Regions from separate parts of the Homo sapiens genome. Here all the other regions are linked to region 1. Evidence: promoter capture Hi-C in 16 types of primary human blood cells and fetal thymus (Javierre and others, 2016). All regions are on one chromosome and are shown on one strand. The core of a region is centred on a gene start or on the middle of the fragment in contact, and the rest is flanking DNA. Distances in the headings are between cores, read along the strand shown. Region 1 holds the start of MITF (melanocyte inducing transcription factor). Region 2 has its middle 160 kb from the start of FRMD4B. Region 3 overlaps MITF (melanocyte inducing transcription factor). Region 4 overlaps MITF (melanocyte inducing transcription factor). Region 5 overlaps MITF (melanocyte inducing transcription factor). Region 6 overlaps MITF (melanocyte inducing transcription factor).

Evidence for each region. The method cuts DNA at HindIII sites, captures the fragments that hold promoters and counts their contacts. A CHiCAGO score of 5 or more calls a contact.
Region 2: a fragment that was not itself captured here is called in contact with the fragment with the promoter of MITF in region 1 in 1 of 17 cell types (M0 macrophages); the score reaches 5.5 in M0 macrophages.
Region 3: a contact is called between a fragment that was not itself captured here and the fragment with the promoter of MITF in region 1, in 3 of 17 cell types (M2 macrophages, M1 macrophages and M0 macrophages). The highest score is 7.0, in M2 macrophages.
Region 4: a contact is called between a fragment that was not itself captured here and the fragment with the promoter of MITF in region 1, in 2 of 17 cell types (M0 macrophages and M2 macrophages). The highest score is 5.1, in M0 macrophages.
Region 5: a contact is called between a fragment that was not itself captured here and the fragment with the promoter of MITF in region 1, in 2 of 17 cell types (M2 macrophages and M1 macrophages). The highest score is 5.8, in M2 macrophages.
Region 6: a contact is called between a fragment that was not itself captured here and the fragment with the promoter of MITF in region 1, in 1 of 17 cell types (M2 macrophages). The highest score is 5.5, in M2 macrophages.

Annotation. Positions count from the first base shown.
Region 1 is chr3:69,738,069-69,740,768 of GRCh38, reverse strand. MITF (melanocyte inducing transcription factor) reads right to left here and starts at 1,305. Exons shown (of 10, transcript NM_001354604.2): 1 at 1,068-1,305. The coding sequence starts at 1,171. RefSeq lists a silencer at 1,070-1,369 and a promoter at 1,169-2,700. The HindIII fragment of the contact is 10,451 bases long and covers 1-2,700 here.
Region 2 is chr3:69,544,850-69,547,549 of GRCh38, reverse strand. No RefSeq gene overlaps it. Among named protein-coding and RNA genes, the nearest start is that of FRMD4B, 160 kb to the right of the region's middle. The HindIII fragment of the contact is 1,975 bases long and covers 375-2,349 here.
Region 3 is chr3:69,950,149-69,952,848 of GRCh38, reverse strand. MITF (melanocyte inducing transcription factor) reads right to left here. Exons shown (of 10, transcript NM_001354604.2): 7 at 963-1,037. Among named protein-coding and RNA genes, the nearest start is that of SAMMSON, 48 kb to the left of the region's middle. The HindIII fragment of the contact is 223 bases long and covers 1,195-1,417 here.
Region 4 is chr3:69,881,260-69,883,959 of GRCh38, reverse strand. All of the region lies in intron 2 of MITF (melanocyte inducing transcription factor), which reads right to left. Among named protein-coding and RNA genes, the nearest start is that of SAMMSON, 120 kb to the left of the region's middle. The HindIII fragment of the contact is 758 bases long and covers 1,052-1,809 here.
Region 5 is chr3:69,966,784-69,969,483 of GRCh38, reverse strand. It overlaps MITF (melanocyte inducing transcription factor), which reads right to left. Exons shown (of 10, transcript NM_001354604.2): 10 at 1,152-2,700. Among named protein-coding and RNA genes, the nearest start is that of SAMMSON, 32 kb to the left of the region's middle. The HindIII fragment of the contact is 1,202 bases long and covers 733-1,934 here.
Region 6 is chr3:69,921,333-69,924,032 of GRCh38, reverse strand. The region is part of intron 2 of MITF (melanocyte inducing transcription factor); the gene reads right to left. Among named protein-coding and RNA genes, the nearest start is that of SAMMSON, 77 kb to the left of the region's middle. RefSeq lists enhancers at 1,247-1,543, 593-1,998. The HindIII fragment of the contact is 2,746 bases long and covers 55-2,700 here.

The DNA of each region.
Region 1 (2,700 bases), core at 56-2,555:
GCCCTGCTGGATGCTTCCAATGATAGCCTTATCCTAGCTCACAGCTTAGAGGGGTGGAAATAAACCCTTCTCAGCTATTCCAGCCTCCATTGACCATGTCCCTTTTAGGAAACATTGTAAACGAGAAGTACGAGGCGTCCAGAGTGGCTGCCGGACAGAGAGAACGGAAGACACCCAATCCATTTCGACAGACAAGTGGGAATGGAGGCAGCAAAAAGGGTGGCTCAAGGGAAGTGGGCACTAGAGGGGATGGGGCATCAGAGCAGTGGATGTCTTCACTCCTCGTCTAAAAAGTTTCTGAAGTCCCCAGCGAATTAAACACGTGTCTCTGCCAAGCGGGGTACACTCCCAGTAACCCCCAAGACCAAGGCTCATTTCCCCTCTGCAGGTAAGGCCTGGATTTGAATGGGACTCTATTTCCAGAGAGTTTAACTTGAACAAGGGGACACGCCCACCGCTGCCCTGGCCCCTCCCGCGCCCGCTAGCAGCGGTCTGGAGGTGAGAGGCGGAGCCCAGAGAAACCTCACCTGCAGGAGCCCAGAGGCTAGTTTCCCCACAGAGACCGGACTCCCAAGAGGTGACTCCAAGCGAACTAATTGCTTCCCTCCAATGTCGCATCTCAGTCCACCCAAAGCTCTCCCTCTCCGAGCCCTCAACCCGCTGGGATCTTCAGAAAGGGGGTTCACTAGAACTCTTTCTCCCCCATCCCACCGGGACAGCGTCCCGGCCCGGCGCTCCTCCTCCCCCACATCGCGCCAGGTCGCTCCCCAGCCCCCAATCAGTCTCAGCAGCTGGCATCCTCGGCCGAGGGTCCCCGCGCCTGGACGCTTCGTCCCCGGCGACCCGCCGCGCCCCCGCGAAGTGCGCTCCATCCGAGCTTCCTAAAGGCGCACTTGGGCCGGGCAGGCGCGGCCCCCAACTGCGAGGGGCAGTTCGCCCTCTGCTCCGGGGCAAGGGCACTGGGTCCTTGTCCCAGAGCTCCCGCGACCCGCTCTCCTCGCCCCAGAGTGGCAGACGCAGTGCCCCCCAGCCGCCCGGTGCGCCTCTGCCCAGCTGTCACCACTCACCTGCTCTTCAGCGGTTGACTTTTGAGTTCGTAATAGGTTTTGGGCTCTTCATGAAACTCCTCCCCGACTTCGAAATCCGGCACGATCCCCGATTCGGACTGCATGGCTCCCGCTTCCCGTCCTTCCACTGCTGGAAAGTGAGAACAGAGCCCGGGGGCGGAGGGAAGGTAGCTGGGCCTGGGTCCCCCGAGCCGTGCGCCCCGGCGCAGTGCCGAGCTCTGCCCGCTCGCCGGCTCGCGGCCGCCCGCCCCAGCGCGGGGAGTTTACACTCGCACCCGGGCGGGAGGGGCTGGCGGCCGAGCGCCGCCTGGGATCTGTAGTTCGGCCCGGGCGGGGCATTCCCAGCTCGCCTGGGGAGCCGCTCCCACGAAAACTACAGCTCCCAGAAGGCCAGGCGGGGGAGAGGCAACGTGGTGGACACCGCTAGTGCAACTCCTGTTTGGATTCATTGTCAATGTCAGCAGCTCCTCTCCCTCCTCTCTCCCCACTTGCTTCAAGGGTACAGACTTGGCTACTTAATATGAATAAGAATGGACACTGACTGCTCTTCTACCATCGCCCCGACCTCTCAGCTCAGACATCTGCGAGGGCACGCCAAGTGCTTATTTTAAAAATAAAATAGTCAAGGGTTTTGGCACAAGAAAGTTTTAGCATTCGAGCCTGTCTTAAAATAAAAGGACTTCCTATCAGCTCGCATGCTTCCCTGGGCTGCTGCGACATATCAGCTTGTCCTCGGATTGGAACAACGAGGAAGAACTTTCCTTCGCTCTGTAATGAAAACGTTATTGGAGAAATTGTTCTTGTGCGTTCCTTTTCTAGAACTAAGTCTGGACTTTTACAATAGTATTCATCAGTTGAATGGCTCTTTCCCCTTTATCCAAGTAGCCACTTCTAATCTACAGCAGCAATTGAAAGATTCGGTTAATTTTAAAAGGCACAAAGTTACAAAATAGCGTCGTTGCTCTCTGCTTTTAATTTCTCAGTTGACTGGGAGTTCAAATGAGATTTGTCCTAGCATTTCAGGAGTGAAGATGTACAAGTGAACTGTACAAGTGTCCACCCCTTCCCGAGCTTCCCGGAACTCACTTAGGGAAGAGAATTTTAAAACTCTCCGTTGTGGCTCATTTGTACTTCTAGTTCTTCCCTCTGATTAGCTCCAGTAGGACGTGTTCCTTCTTTTCAAAAGTGTTTTGAGGCATCAGGGAGGCAGTATAGAGTTACAGTGGCATTTAAAGGTATAAGACTCAGAGTTGAAATCCCCAGTCCTTCTAAGAAGAGCTGTGCAATCCTGAGCATGTCACTTGGTTCCTAGAAGCCTCCATTTCTTCATCCATAAAAGAAGAGATTGGCAAACCAGTTTTAGAAGATGTTGCAAGGTCAAATGTAAGAGAAAGTGATTTGCAATCTATAAAAACTCTGCTCAGTGGTCATTCTTTATTAGGTCTTGAAGTTATTCCTTTCAGATTAACATCTCATTTTGGTGTTTGGCCTTTCAGAATTAATAAACTAAATGACTGTCCTAGGAGAAAATTCTAAAGAGGCTACAGTGACAACTGGGCACCTCCCAGGAGTTACCCCTTTGCATATCTTGCCTCCCACTGAAACATTTTAATTTCACATCAGAAAAGACATC
Region 2 (2,700 bases), core at 113-2,612, 190 kb after region 1:
ATTATATTACTTCCATAATCGGGAAGCAAGTGCAACCACAGTTAGCCTCATGACACACGTTCATAGTCACAGCTAAATCAGCAACAGCTTCATGTTAGGTTGAACCCCATGAAGTTGCCAATATTTGACCTTTAATCCACAGAAACACAATTTCCTGTGATTTAACCAATGATCTTTCTGTCTATGTTTAAACATAATTATTCAAGTTTTCTTATTTTGTTTTAATTTCAGGGTATCATAATTAGTACACTTTGAAAAAGCCTTATTTTATGTTTATTTACATATTCAAAGATTGGAGATAATGACCTAATAATTTTGTGCTACATTTGAGCATAAAACACATCAGCCTTGGTTAGGTTAGTGAAAAAAAAGCTTTAATTTCATCTCAAGGCCCTGGGCTTAAATAGAAAGATGAGGCATCAGTGATGATGAACATCCCATGGAGGTATGAAATAATGGGCCTCCTTTTTGTTGATTACAGTGTGTTGTGTCGTCAAGGTGCAGAGTATATCTAGGGCTCACACAGAAATATATGCTGCAATGGTACGCTTTAAGAAGTAGCAAAATATCTTGAAGTATATCAATGGATGGCTGTTCTTAGTTATCTAAAGAGTGCTTTAGAAAGAAAACACAACAATTGACCCTGAGTAGCAACAAGTATGGTTTTTTTTACATGTTCAATATTATTGTGATTCAATTTTTTTTAGTCTGTTGAAAATCCAGAAATCACTGAGATCTACCCAAGTCATTATATTCACAACAAAAGTACCATGTGTCTCCTGGCATGGCGGGCTAGACCTTCATTCCCGCTGGGTCAAAGAGACCTGGGATCAAATTGTAGCTACTGACTTGCTAGTTATAGGACCATGAGCAAGTCATTTCACCTGTCTGGGTTAATTTTCTCATGTGTAGAATGGAGTGAAAAAGGGTGATTACTTCACAGGGTCACTAATAAAATGAGACCACATGTGCAAAACACTTAATGAACATGAGCACGGGTTCTTGTTACAAATTAATGAACGTCTGCCCACTCACAAGCCTTTAGCTATAAAATATGCAAGCGGTATATATGCTCTTATCCCATATTTGAATAACCAGCAGGAAATCTTTGAAAGGCAGAAACACTCTGAAGAAAATGATAGTGCTGTAGGAATGATATGACCTCCTTTTAACCTTGGTTTTAAAATTGTACATAAAAGAAAAATAAAAATCAAAGATAACTAATTGGCTTGGGTGAATAAATTATGGCATATCAATATAATAGATGACTTGTATGTTTTGTGTTTGCATGTACATTTTTAAAAGTCTGGACTATGTATGTCAAAGATGCTTATTCAGAGTAGTGAACTTGCAAATAATTTTTCATTTCTACTTTATGTATTTCTTATATTGTCAAAAACTTCTCGGCTGGGTGCAGTGGCTCATGCCTGTAATCCCAGCACTTTAGGAGGACAAGGTGGGAGGATCACCTGAGATCAGGAGTTCGAGACCAGTCTGGCCAACATGGTGAAACCCTGTCTGTACTAAAAATGCAAAAATTAGCTGGGCAAGGTGGCACACCCCTGTAATCCCAGCTGCTGGGGAGGCTGAGGTGAGAGAATTGCTTGAACCTGGAAGGTAGAGGCTGCAGTGAGCTGAGATGGCGCCACTGCACTCCAGCCTGGGTGACAGAGTGAGACCCCATCTTAAAAAACAAAAAAAAAAAAACAACTTCTCCAATAAGCATATATCTATACTTAGTACAGATATATAAATAAATAAATATAAAAATAACTTTAAATTTAGAAAATAAAATATTTATGATACATGTTCTTATTAATTCAATAGCTGAATCTCATGTCACACTCCTTCATACTGTATAAGACTGAGGGCTTGAAATGGGGGTCTGGGGAATTTCTAACACCCTCTTGCATCAAAACTATTTTATTATATATACAGCAGTGTGTGGGCCCTGATTTTTCACCTGGAAATTATATATTTCAAGACAGAATTGTTTCCTCTTCATCCTCCTTGCTGTCACTTTGTCCATGTATATTTGTCTCATCACAACAACTAAATTATGAGCTTCTGAATGACAAACCTCATTTCCTTTATCTTGTTTGTTGCAGTTTTTTGTGTGTTTGTTTGTTTGTTTTGGCATAGTACCTATCCTAGAGTTAGGTATTTACTAGTCACACAAAAAGTAAAGGATGTGTTGTTTTCCCTCTGGATGTGGTTCCTGCAGCCAAGTCTATAATACAGAATCCAAATACGTAGTCCATGAGTAGGTTTCAGGTAGTTCCTACGGACATCCTATGGACATTTCGGTGATTCCAATCCCTACTGTATAATGATTTCACCTACAAAGCTTTAAGAAAATCCTGATGCCCAAACTCCACCCCCAGAGATTCTAATATAATTGTTTCCAGTATTGAAAACAAACAAACAAATAAAGAAAAAACATCCCCAGAACTCTAATATGCAGCCAGGTTGATAATTCTATATTAGGATAAAATAAAGGAAAAAAAGTTTTTGCAGGTTCAATTGTGTTGTGGTTTTAATTTTGCTGTTTTCCATAAATATTCCATAAATATTTATTCTATAAATATTTATTCTATAAATATTTATTCTATAAATATTTATTTTTCAGAAGATGGAATTTGGAAAGAAATCAGCCTCTGTCCTTTAATAATAATAGCTAGTATTTATTAAGCATTTATC
Region 3 (2,700 bases), core at 57-2,556, 210 kb before region 1:
AACAGCAAAAGGTCTTCAAAACATGCTGCTTAGTAGAAAAAAATCAACATAAAATGGACAATATGATACCGTTTGTGTTAAAACATATAGAAATCCATATGATTTATTTTCTGTGTGCATGTGTCTATATTCTTAATACACAGAAAAAGGTCAGGAAGAGCAATGCCAAATTGAAACCAACACGCATATTCCTGGGGACTAAAGGGGAACTCTGGCCTTATTCTATCATTTTTATAAGGAGAAAGTGTTTATATATGACTCACATTCTTAAAAATCAATTTAAGAAACAGAGGACATGAGGCCATGAGATGAGAAATTCACACACAATTTCCTACCTCCAAGCCCAATCCCTTTTTAAAAAAATCTGTGCAACTTGTCTTACATGTTTATATTAAACCAAAATTAAAGTATTCGTAGGAGACAACTTGAAGATTTGATCAAGAGTAAATTAAACACGTAAAAAATATTTTAAATGCTTTAGGGCTATTTTTTTTAAGTCACGAATCATGTCAGAAATTTAGGAGGCTGCCTCATCCATTTACTCCCCTTCAGATCTGTTTCTTTCTTTCTTTTTCTTTCAAATCTCATTGGAGAAGGTGCTTCCCTAATCCCCTTTTGTTAATAAGTTCCAGTGTGAGCAACACTTATAATTGGGTAGTTGGGGATCAATTCTCCCTCTTACCAAAAAGAGAGAGAGAGAGAGAGAAAACCACTACTAGAAACAAGAAAAATAAAAACTCTTCAGAAACTGAAAATAAGTATATATACAAAATTCAATTTGATCTGAGATAAAATATGGGGAAAATATATACCTTGGTTTCTGTCAAATACAATTTTCTTCCATAAGAGAGAATTTTAACAGCTGTAGGAATCAACTCTCCTCTACAGAATTTCTGGAAACATTTTTGATATATGGGGAACATTAATATCAAATGTCATGAACATAAATAAAACCAACTTACTCAGGTTGTGATTGTCCTTTTTCTGCCTCTCTTTGGCCAGTGCTCTTGCTTCAGACTCTGTGGGAAAAATACACGCTGTGCACGTGAATGAAGTCATTAGAAGTTGGAACTGTTTGAAGTTGCACAAAATGTAAACTACAAAATATCTCATTTCCCAAACATACAGAAGCTTATTTGACTTGACTCTAAGTAAAAATACGTTTTTTTAAAAATGATATCTTTTTAAAAAGCTTGCATGTTTTCAAAAGCAATATATATATCATATATACAATATGTAAAAACTGGGCTTCCACAAAATGGTAAAAAAAAACCCTGGTAAAAATTATATATAGCACACTGTAAACATATACAGATACTAGCAAGAAAGAAATCGATAATTAGAAAACTATGTCAATTTGCTGTTGATACTCTATTATCAGGGGTCTGATATATTTTCTTTTCAGGCCATAGAAGCTTTCAATCCTTTTTTGATGCCTGTGTAACGTGCTGATATAAAAACTGAGTAGTGGCCCAGCATGGTTGCTTGCACCTGTAATTCCAGCACTTTGGGAAGTGGAAGTGGAAAGATCACTTGAGCCCAGGAGTTCAAGATCAGCCTTGGTCTTTACAAAAAATAAAAAAAAATAAGTCCAGCATGGTGGTGCATGCTTGCAGTCCCAGCTACGGGAGGCTGAGGTGGGAGGATCACTTGAGCCCAGGAGGTCGAGGTTGTAGTGAGCCGTGATCACACCACTGCACACCAGCTCAGGAGACACAGAGAGACCCTGTCTCAAAAAAAAAAAAAAAAAAAAAAGCTGCCAAATTGGATCTCTGTCTCTTCTAACTAGTTCACTACTTCATAGAATGAACTCATTTTTTCAGAAGTTGGTGCCAGATTCTGTTAAAACCTGCTGTAATGAAATCATCTAATAACTTAGGAACCACTATTTACTAGCTTGAGTCTATAAAAACAAAATAGGAATAGAGGCATTTGGTGGCAACTGCAATTGGAAAGCTCTATTTGCATAGCAACTCTTGTGACATCTCTGGGATAAGAGATTACTTTTTGCCTTACAGAGAACAAAACAAAACAAAACAGAATTAAAAACAAAACAAAACATGTTACTTGACCAATCTGGGGATCCAGAAAGCTCTGTTATTTCCTTTTCAGAAGTGATAGCTGAAGCATTACACTACCATAATTTAGAATTTTATCTCAAAATAGAAATCTTTTTAGCATAACTTATAGCCACTGAAGCATATATATATATATATATATACACACCATATATATTTATTATATGGGTGTTATATATGTATATATGCATATCTATATGCATACATCCATGTATATATGCATATCTATATGCATACATCCATGTATATATGCATATATATGCATATCTATGTGTGTGTGTGTATGTGTGTGCATATATATATATATATATATATATATATAACTCAGAAGTTGAATTCTTTCAGTTGTGATGGTCAGTTCAAATCATTTTCTAGTTTTTTTTTCCTCACACAGAAGCATGACTTACATACCCTCCACTTCAATGATTCTTAAGTTGTTGTTGTTGTTGTTGTTTTGTTTTGTTTTGCTTTGTTTTGAGACAGGACTCATTCCTCTTGCCCAGGCTGGAGTGCAGTGGTGTGATCACAGCTCATTGCAGCCTGGAACTCCTGAGCTCAAGCAATCTGCCTGCCTCAGCTTCCCAAAGTGCTGAGATTACAGGCGTGAGCTACTGTGCCTGCC
Region 4 (2,700 bases), core at 181-2,680, 140 kb before region 1:
TGCAGACACCAACATTGATTCAAAAACAAAAGGACAACAATGTTTATAAATGATCCCTGAAATCAAGGCTGACAGGTTGTTTGTGTAAGTCAAACTACAAGGGTCATAAGTATATGCTGGTCCATGTGTGAATGGACTATGCTATAAGAAGAAATCTTAGACATAGCAGGTCTTCACCTTATGAGAGTGACACCTCTAGCAACAGATCCCCTAACTGAGGGGACAAAGGCAAGCTGATCTGAGACACACTACATCTGTTCTGGCTTCTTGCAGCCACCATGATGCTATTTAGGGTCTGTATTCCTGGCTAAATAAACCAGAAACAAAATCTAAGGGTAGGTTGTGGGAGAAGTCCCTTTTGCCAATCTGTAGCCCACCAATCCACCTGTAACTCCACACACATTTTCATGTTCTGTGTTATACCTAAAAAATAAATCACACCTTGAAAATTCTACTCCATGCAGATTTCATAATTTACAGAGAAAGACCAGTAGTTCAGCCATTAACCCTTCCCCTCACTAGTGAAATATGGAATGTCAGTTTTTGAAAGAGGGTAACAAGGAGCAGGGCTTCCAGCCCACCTCGCTAGAATCTCAATACAAATGAGAGGCAACTTTGACGAGATAACCACCAAATAAATGCCCACGTAAATTTAGTTTACAATGTAGAAGGTCCCAGAAAAAGTGCTTCTGTATTTGACAAACAGCAAGCATCATCACTAATTACAGAGCAATTTGCGCAACTCTTGAGATGATTTGGAGAAAAGGGAAAATTTAAAAATAAATTCCTTCAAAGTAGTTAAGAAATGCCCCAAAGTAATAAAAAAAATCTTTTCCTTTTAAAATTCATGCAACCTTTCCCTTAAGCAGAACAGAAAAATTCAAGGGACAATCCGTTCCAGAGAAGACACTTCGACTTTGCCTTTAAAATTTTAAATTTCAAGGTGAAAGGAAGGGAGGGAGAGACAGAGGTAGTGGGGAATCCTTGGCAACTCCCTTCAGATTTCTGAACAGAGAAACATTTTCAAACTGTAAACTAATGTTTTCAAGCTTTCAACCGTCAAAGCCCATCTTGGGAAGGTAGTAGGGGAAGAAATCCTGATGAACTTAGTCCAGGATGAGAGCGACCAGTGCTTTTATAATTCATCAAAGTCAGAGAGACAAAACTATGAAAACAGATGCTTGGTGACTACATAAATGATTAACTTGGTGGTTTGTACCGTGATGCTTTAGCTATAAGGCTGAACTCACCTACAGTTCTGTCCCGTTACTCTGTTTTTGTTTGAAAAAAGCTACATCAAATTTCAAACTTCAGGTTTGCATGACTTGCATGTCAGCAAAACCCACTTGTGGAAGAAACTGATTCCATTAATGGTTCTTGATGACTTTTTTTTTGTTGTTGTTAATTCACAACTCAAAATACAGGGTGTGTTCACCATTACAAAAAAATGCATTATGCACTCCAGGTGTTGGTTAATTTATGGTAAAAGAGCATCCTTAAATTACAATACCCAATTGGGTAAGGTTGTTCTTAAAAAACTTGGAGAATATCTTTACTATGTAAATATATAGCAATAAGACTCATGATTCCATGTCCCCAAAAATGAAAATCAATATGAAGGAAAATTCATATATTATTAAATCAATATAGAAACCAGAGGCTAATCTTACAAAGATTCATGAACTTACTCACGGCACAATGACTATACGTTGAGGAATGAGTGGTGCAGATTTTCGATCTCTAACCCAAAATCTGACTAGTCCTAAGTTTACCAGATGTCAATAACTTTTAAACATGCTTTATAAAGCTTCATATTTTAAATTTTACTCTGCCAAAAAAAGGGATTAACCTGAAAACACTGCTTTAGCTTTTTGAAATCAGTCATTCATCCAGATAGCAGAATGTTGGTAACTTAACTTTGTGTGTGTATGAAAACTAAACTATGACCTTTCTTCCCTCTGGTTCTTACAAACAACTTGGGAGACGGAGAGATTTAACCAGATTCTCTAGTGCATGCAAGTGTGACTAATTGTATACATCTACCTCCACTGAGAAGCAGGCATGTTCTGTTTTAGCAAGTTAAACCTTTAAAAATTAAGCGAATTTACTCAGGCCATACTATGAGAAAATATTTATTCAATATAATCTGTATCATAATGCACTCAATTAGTATACTTGGTATTACCATTCTTTGAAAATATATATTCATGGAGAAATAAATGGTCCAAGATTAAGCATATTAACTGTTTTGCTATTAACCACTTACTTCACAAAATTATGCTTATGATTTAAAAACTATAAAAAAGAAAAAAAAAACCACCTTTCTCTCACTTATCTTTCTATAATGTTTCATAATACTTTTATACACAAAATTTTGAAAATAAGCCAACTATATTTATGAAGTCCTAAGTCTTTAAGTATCTGAAGCAATCACTTATATGATATTCTCTTTAAAAATGTTATCTGATTTTCTTAAAATATTGTCTTAATAAAATCGTGTATTCTTATTTGTTTCTTCATTTAAGAATACCAAAATTTGTCTAAATAGCTATCAAACCTAACCATATAGCTATGGCAATAATTCCTTATTTTTATTTATATGACATAGTTTACTAGTTTATATAACTGAAATATAAAAAAGCAGAAGTTAAATAGACAGGAACTATATTCAGAGTGAAAGAGAAATTTACCTAATACTTA
Region 5 (2,700 bases), core at 84-2,583, 230 kb before region 1:
TTGAACGGATATAATTTATTTGAAAGTGAATTGGCTTAATAAAATTTTAAGAAATGTAACTCTGTGGATATCAAATGAAGTCATACACACTGTAGGCAAATGTCTAATCTTCAGGTAACACCACTATAACACGTTAATTGTGTGTGTGTGTGTGTGTGTGTGTGTGTGTGTGTCTGTGTGTAAGTGGGGGAAGCTAAAGATGAAGGATTCTTATGGGCTGTGAAATGACTATTTACTGGTAAATATCAGGACAGAAATGTGGGTGAAGGTATTGCTGCAGATCCCCCGGAGATGAAAAGCCCCAATTTTCAACTTACTTGCTTTTGATTTTGCCCAGAATATTCTCTCTTGTTCCAAAAGGAAATCTTTCTACTTTTACATGTTTTTAAGGGATCCTACAGTTATACTTCTAGGGAAAATATAAATAATTCAAATAGGTCTAAAAAAGAAAGGCCTTGATTATTGTATATTACAATTTAAGAAGAAAATTAAAAGTAGGAAAAAGCTGACAGTCAGATCAGAAGCATTACAGGAAGTTTCTTGCTCATTTTCTCCAGAGGTTAAGCCAGAATATATTTTTTAAAAGGGCAGAAGTTTAAGGTCTAGCTAGGGAATAAAGACATGTTTTGTCTGACACTTCCCAATTCAAATCCAACATTTATCAAATGATTCTTAAGTAGTGTATTAAAAAAAAAAGGCAACCAGGAGCTGGCAGCCTGGGTATATTAAGCTTTCATTATTGTAAATTTGTATTTTAAAAACCCAATATCTTTTCTGTAAATATGCAAGGGTTTCTCTGACAATTTCTCTTTTTTAAAGCCACCTCTCAATGAAACATTTTAAATAAAACTCCTATATCTAAAATGAAGTCTTGGCATTTGGGAGTTTAAAATCTCCCCAAATTCAGAGGGGGATAAAAAAGGTGCATAATTACACCTCATCTGAGTGTAAGTCAAAAAGTAATCAAAAATGTTTAAAACCAAAAAGTAACATCTTAGAGTGGCATTTTAAACAAAAAAAGTACTTACTGGCATTTTCTAAATTTTCATGCAATTTGTTATTCATTAAATCAGAAGAAAATGTGCACTACCATTTTTTGATATGGCAGATAGCATTCAAAATTGGCATTAACACAATAGGCCACCACTATGTGAAAAACCAAATGCTTTAATGAGGCTATCAAGAACAAGTCGATTATTTCATTGGATACATTAATATCGATCCATAATATACAGTGCTATGGACCATACAGAAATTATTGCTGCATCCAACAGCAGGTGACTATTATTAACATTACAGTACCAAGCATCCGCAAGAGACAGTCATTTGTCATTTTTTATCAAGAAATAGGGCTGTTTTATACTGTTATTGACATCAACTTTTTCCCAGTGCATTTTTCAAAAATATTAATAAGTTCATTCCTTTGTGCTTTTAACTTCCTATGTATTGTATTTGTTCTTATTGCTTTATTGTTTAAAAACAACCAGAAAGAATTTTGTCATCCTATGTATGACCAGGTTGCTTGTATGCTTTTTGGCAAAGTCAGAAGGTTTGGTATTTCCATTGCCCTACTCAGAGGCAGATGGACAATTTTGGCATTTTGGTCACTCCATATAGAGGCCCAACCCCGAGTTACAATTCTGCACCCGGGAATCGGGGGAGTGGTGTGGATCATTTTCTTGTTACAAACAACAAGCCCAAACCACTGCCTCTTGGCTTAGCTAGCCCCTGAAATGAATCCACACTCTATTTGGCAAAAAAGAAATAAATAAAACCACCCCCAAGATTGCAGCATTCTCCTGGGCTTGCTCACCTGCCACCTGCAGAAATTGTCTCTTAAGGAGAAGGGGAGGGGGAGGCAGGCAATGGCAAGGTTAGGAGTTGTGACAGTCAGGGCAGTGGTACAAGATGCCATACTTTCTTTCAACAAAGCTTTCTATATGGTTGCTTAACCATGGTCCTGTTCCCGTGGCCGTAGGTTAGTCAACCTTGCTTTATTTTTAAAAACCCTCAAAATCAGCTAAGGAAAACTAACATCATAGCATCACGATCTTCAACTTTTGCATCCAGCGCCCTCCCCCCCATATAAATATGAAGAGAAAAATAGACAATGCTATGATTGTATCAATGAACACTATGGTACAATTAGCTGTTCATGCAGATTTGCGTCACTATTCTAGGAAAAGAGCTATACAGTTAAGGGGGTTGAAAGAATGGGAACTAATTTTCCCTACCCCCTTAAGAAATAAAGCTATAAAACTGATAGCATCACCAATGTTTCCAAGGATTCTCATTGCCCAGCGTGCATGGGAACTATGCAGTTGATTATTTTCACCTAAACCGTCCATTCACACATCTGACGATCACTCCTCTCTGAACCCTCCATCACCCATCACCAATTCACATTTGACATTTAAACACTTTTTAAAAACCCTCCTGAATAAGGTTTCCTGATGAAAGAAGTTGGCACTCTGTCACTAAAATATATTTAATATTAAAAATATCTGAAGGAAAATTGGAAGCTCTTATATTGTCTACATAGGCACCATGCTACATGTTCGTCTTGACTATAGATACCATCATGAAACTTTCCCCTACATTACAGTTCAGTCAGTGCTAGTCCAAAAAAGACTACTGCTATATTTAAGGCACTTCATTCTGAATGGATATGCTTTATGCCACTTGCTATTCAGTTGTAGG
Region 6 (2,700 bases), core at 178-2,677, 180 kb before region 1:
CCAATGATCTACATGGATGTCATCTAAAACACGTAATCAACTGAAACTTAAGCTTACATAGGTATTTAGGCAGAGCTTTATTTTTCCTCACTATAAAAAGTACTTTGCCAAAAAAAAACAAACAAAAACCTATGACTTATCATACTCTACAAAGCAAATTCTCAGAGATTTAAAATTTTTTGAAAATCTATAAAAATCTGTAAAGGGAGGACACACCTATACCAGGCCAATATATGTGGTTTGGATAGTCCCATTTGGATTTGTGTGATAAAAATAATGGATAATGCATATAAAGAGGAAGAGGATAGACTACTTCTTTGGAGAATATAGGTAGGAATTTTAAAGGAGGTAGGAAAATGGGAAGATATAGAGACTCCTCATAATTAGGAGAAGAATTAAAAAGTGAAAATAGGCTAGGTGTGGTGACTCATGCCTGTAATCCCAGCACTCTGGGAGGCCAAGGCAGGCCGATCACTTCAGGCCAACATGGTGAAACCCCATCTCTACTAAAAATACAAAAATTAGCCTGGTGTGGTGGTGTGTGCCTGCAGTCCCAGCTACTCAGGAGGCTGAGGCAGGAGAATTGATTGAACCCGGGAGGCAGAGGTTGCAATGAGCCAAGATCGCATCAATGCATTCCAGCCTAGGTGACAGAGCAAGACTCCATCTCCAAAAGAAAGAAAATAAAGCAATTACTGAGTGCTATGTTACAGGTAGTTTTTCTGAAAGTTTTCAATGGATTCACTTATTTAATCCTCATTACAATCCTACGAAGTAGCAGATGTTATTATCCCCATTTTCAGCATGAGGAAATTGAGGCTTACTCCTAATCACTTTATGAAACACTACCAAACTATGAGTTATTTACAGGATTCATATTTTCAACGGAATTATTTCTGCTTTTGAAACTGTTCAGAGGGCCTATGTAATCACTATTTCTTCTGAGTATTTGTTTTTGTGCTTTATTATAAATAAGGCTTCTCCTGAGAATTTGGTCCCCCGCTGGGTGGACACTGTTGTTAAACCAAAACGCTACCCAATTCCAAAGTGAACAGAATCAGCCCCTCAAGCCAGCAACGGGTCAACAAGGACAGGACCTAACAACGGAGAAAGTCAATATGGACATTTGTTCTGGGAAAACTGCCTTAGGACTTTGACTAATTTAAGGGTTGAGGGTTTGTTTCTTTCTTTCTTTCTTTGTGAGAAGGATGAGATGAGGGGGCTGGTCAGTCAGCAAACAAACAATCTTCCAGACTCAATGGCAATTTTTGTTAACCAAAGGCATCTCAGTATCATGAGATTTGTAAAGGAAAGGTTAAAATACTGTATGATATAGTAATGTCTTTTATAAGAAAGAAAATAGGCCACTGTATCACTGAAGTACCAGTTGTTACGTACTCAGTTGTGAAGCAGTAACAAAAACGGGAAGAAGAGAAATGTCAAGACTGCCCTTTTGTTAAAAACCCACTATATTATGTGGCTTGGATAAAAACAAAAACTAAAAAGCAATGGCGGCCGGGTGTGGTGGCTCACTCCTGTAATCCCAGCACTTTGGGAGGCCAAGGCAGGTGGATCACAACGTCAAGAGATCGAGACCATCCTGGCCAACATGGTGAAACCCTAACTTTACTAAAAATATAAAAATTAGCTGGGTGTGGTGGCATATGCCTGTAGTCCCAGCTACTTGGGAGGCTGAGGCAGGAGAATCACCTGAACCCAGGAGGCAGAGGCTGCAGTGAGCTGAGATTGTGCCACCGCACTCCAGCCTGGCGACAGAGTGAGACTCCGTCTGAAAAAAAAAGCAATGGCATAGTCAATCCTCAAATCTCTATATATTGTGTGGTAGACAGAAAAGAAAGCGAGACCTCAACATGAAAGAAAATACTTCATTTCTATCATCAAGGGGCTTACAACCCAAGGGTTAGGTGGGGGAAACAGGGAGAGTAACCCACACAGAAATTTACAGTAAGGTGCTCCTGCCTATTAAGATGGGAGCTCTCAACTGTACAGGCAGTTTTGCCCTTCAAGGAATTTTAGGCAATGTCTGGAGATACTTTTGGTTGTCATAACTATGTGAGGAGGGGGTGCTACTACCGGCATCCAGTATGCGAGAGTCCAGCGGTGATGCTAAACATCCTACGATGCACAAGACAGCCTTTCAAAACAAAGACTCTTTCGTCCCAGTGTTAATAATGCCACAGTGTAGAAATCCTATCCTAGAAGAGGCTGTGCCAATTTCCTTCCCGACTCCTTTCAGTGGCAGATTTCAGAAAAGGCACAGAAACTAGTCAAGCCCCAGGAATGGCACAGGTATCTCATGAACTATTGACATGCTTCCTTCTTATATCTGATATTCACAGTTATCAAGAGTTATTTCACATCTTGTCTTGACATGCAAAGGAGATGTTTCTAGCTAATTGGAGGGTGCAGGAAACGTCATCTTCACTGTAAATAGCCTAATTCAATACTCAAGAATTCATACTGATTTGAGTTCTGGACAGTCAGATGGACAGGAAAAGCTATGCTATAAATCAAGAACGATCAATTCAACACAATAATGATAAACTATGCCCTAAAACTATATAGAATGAAGCTGAACAATTCTAATGTTTCAAAAAGCACACTAGGAATCTGCTTTTGGTGTTTCTGAGTCATTCCGAACATCAACTATGAGTGCATTATTGATATCTGAGAGTGTCA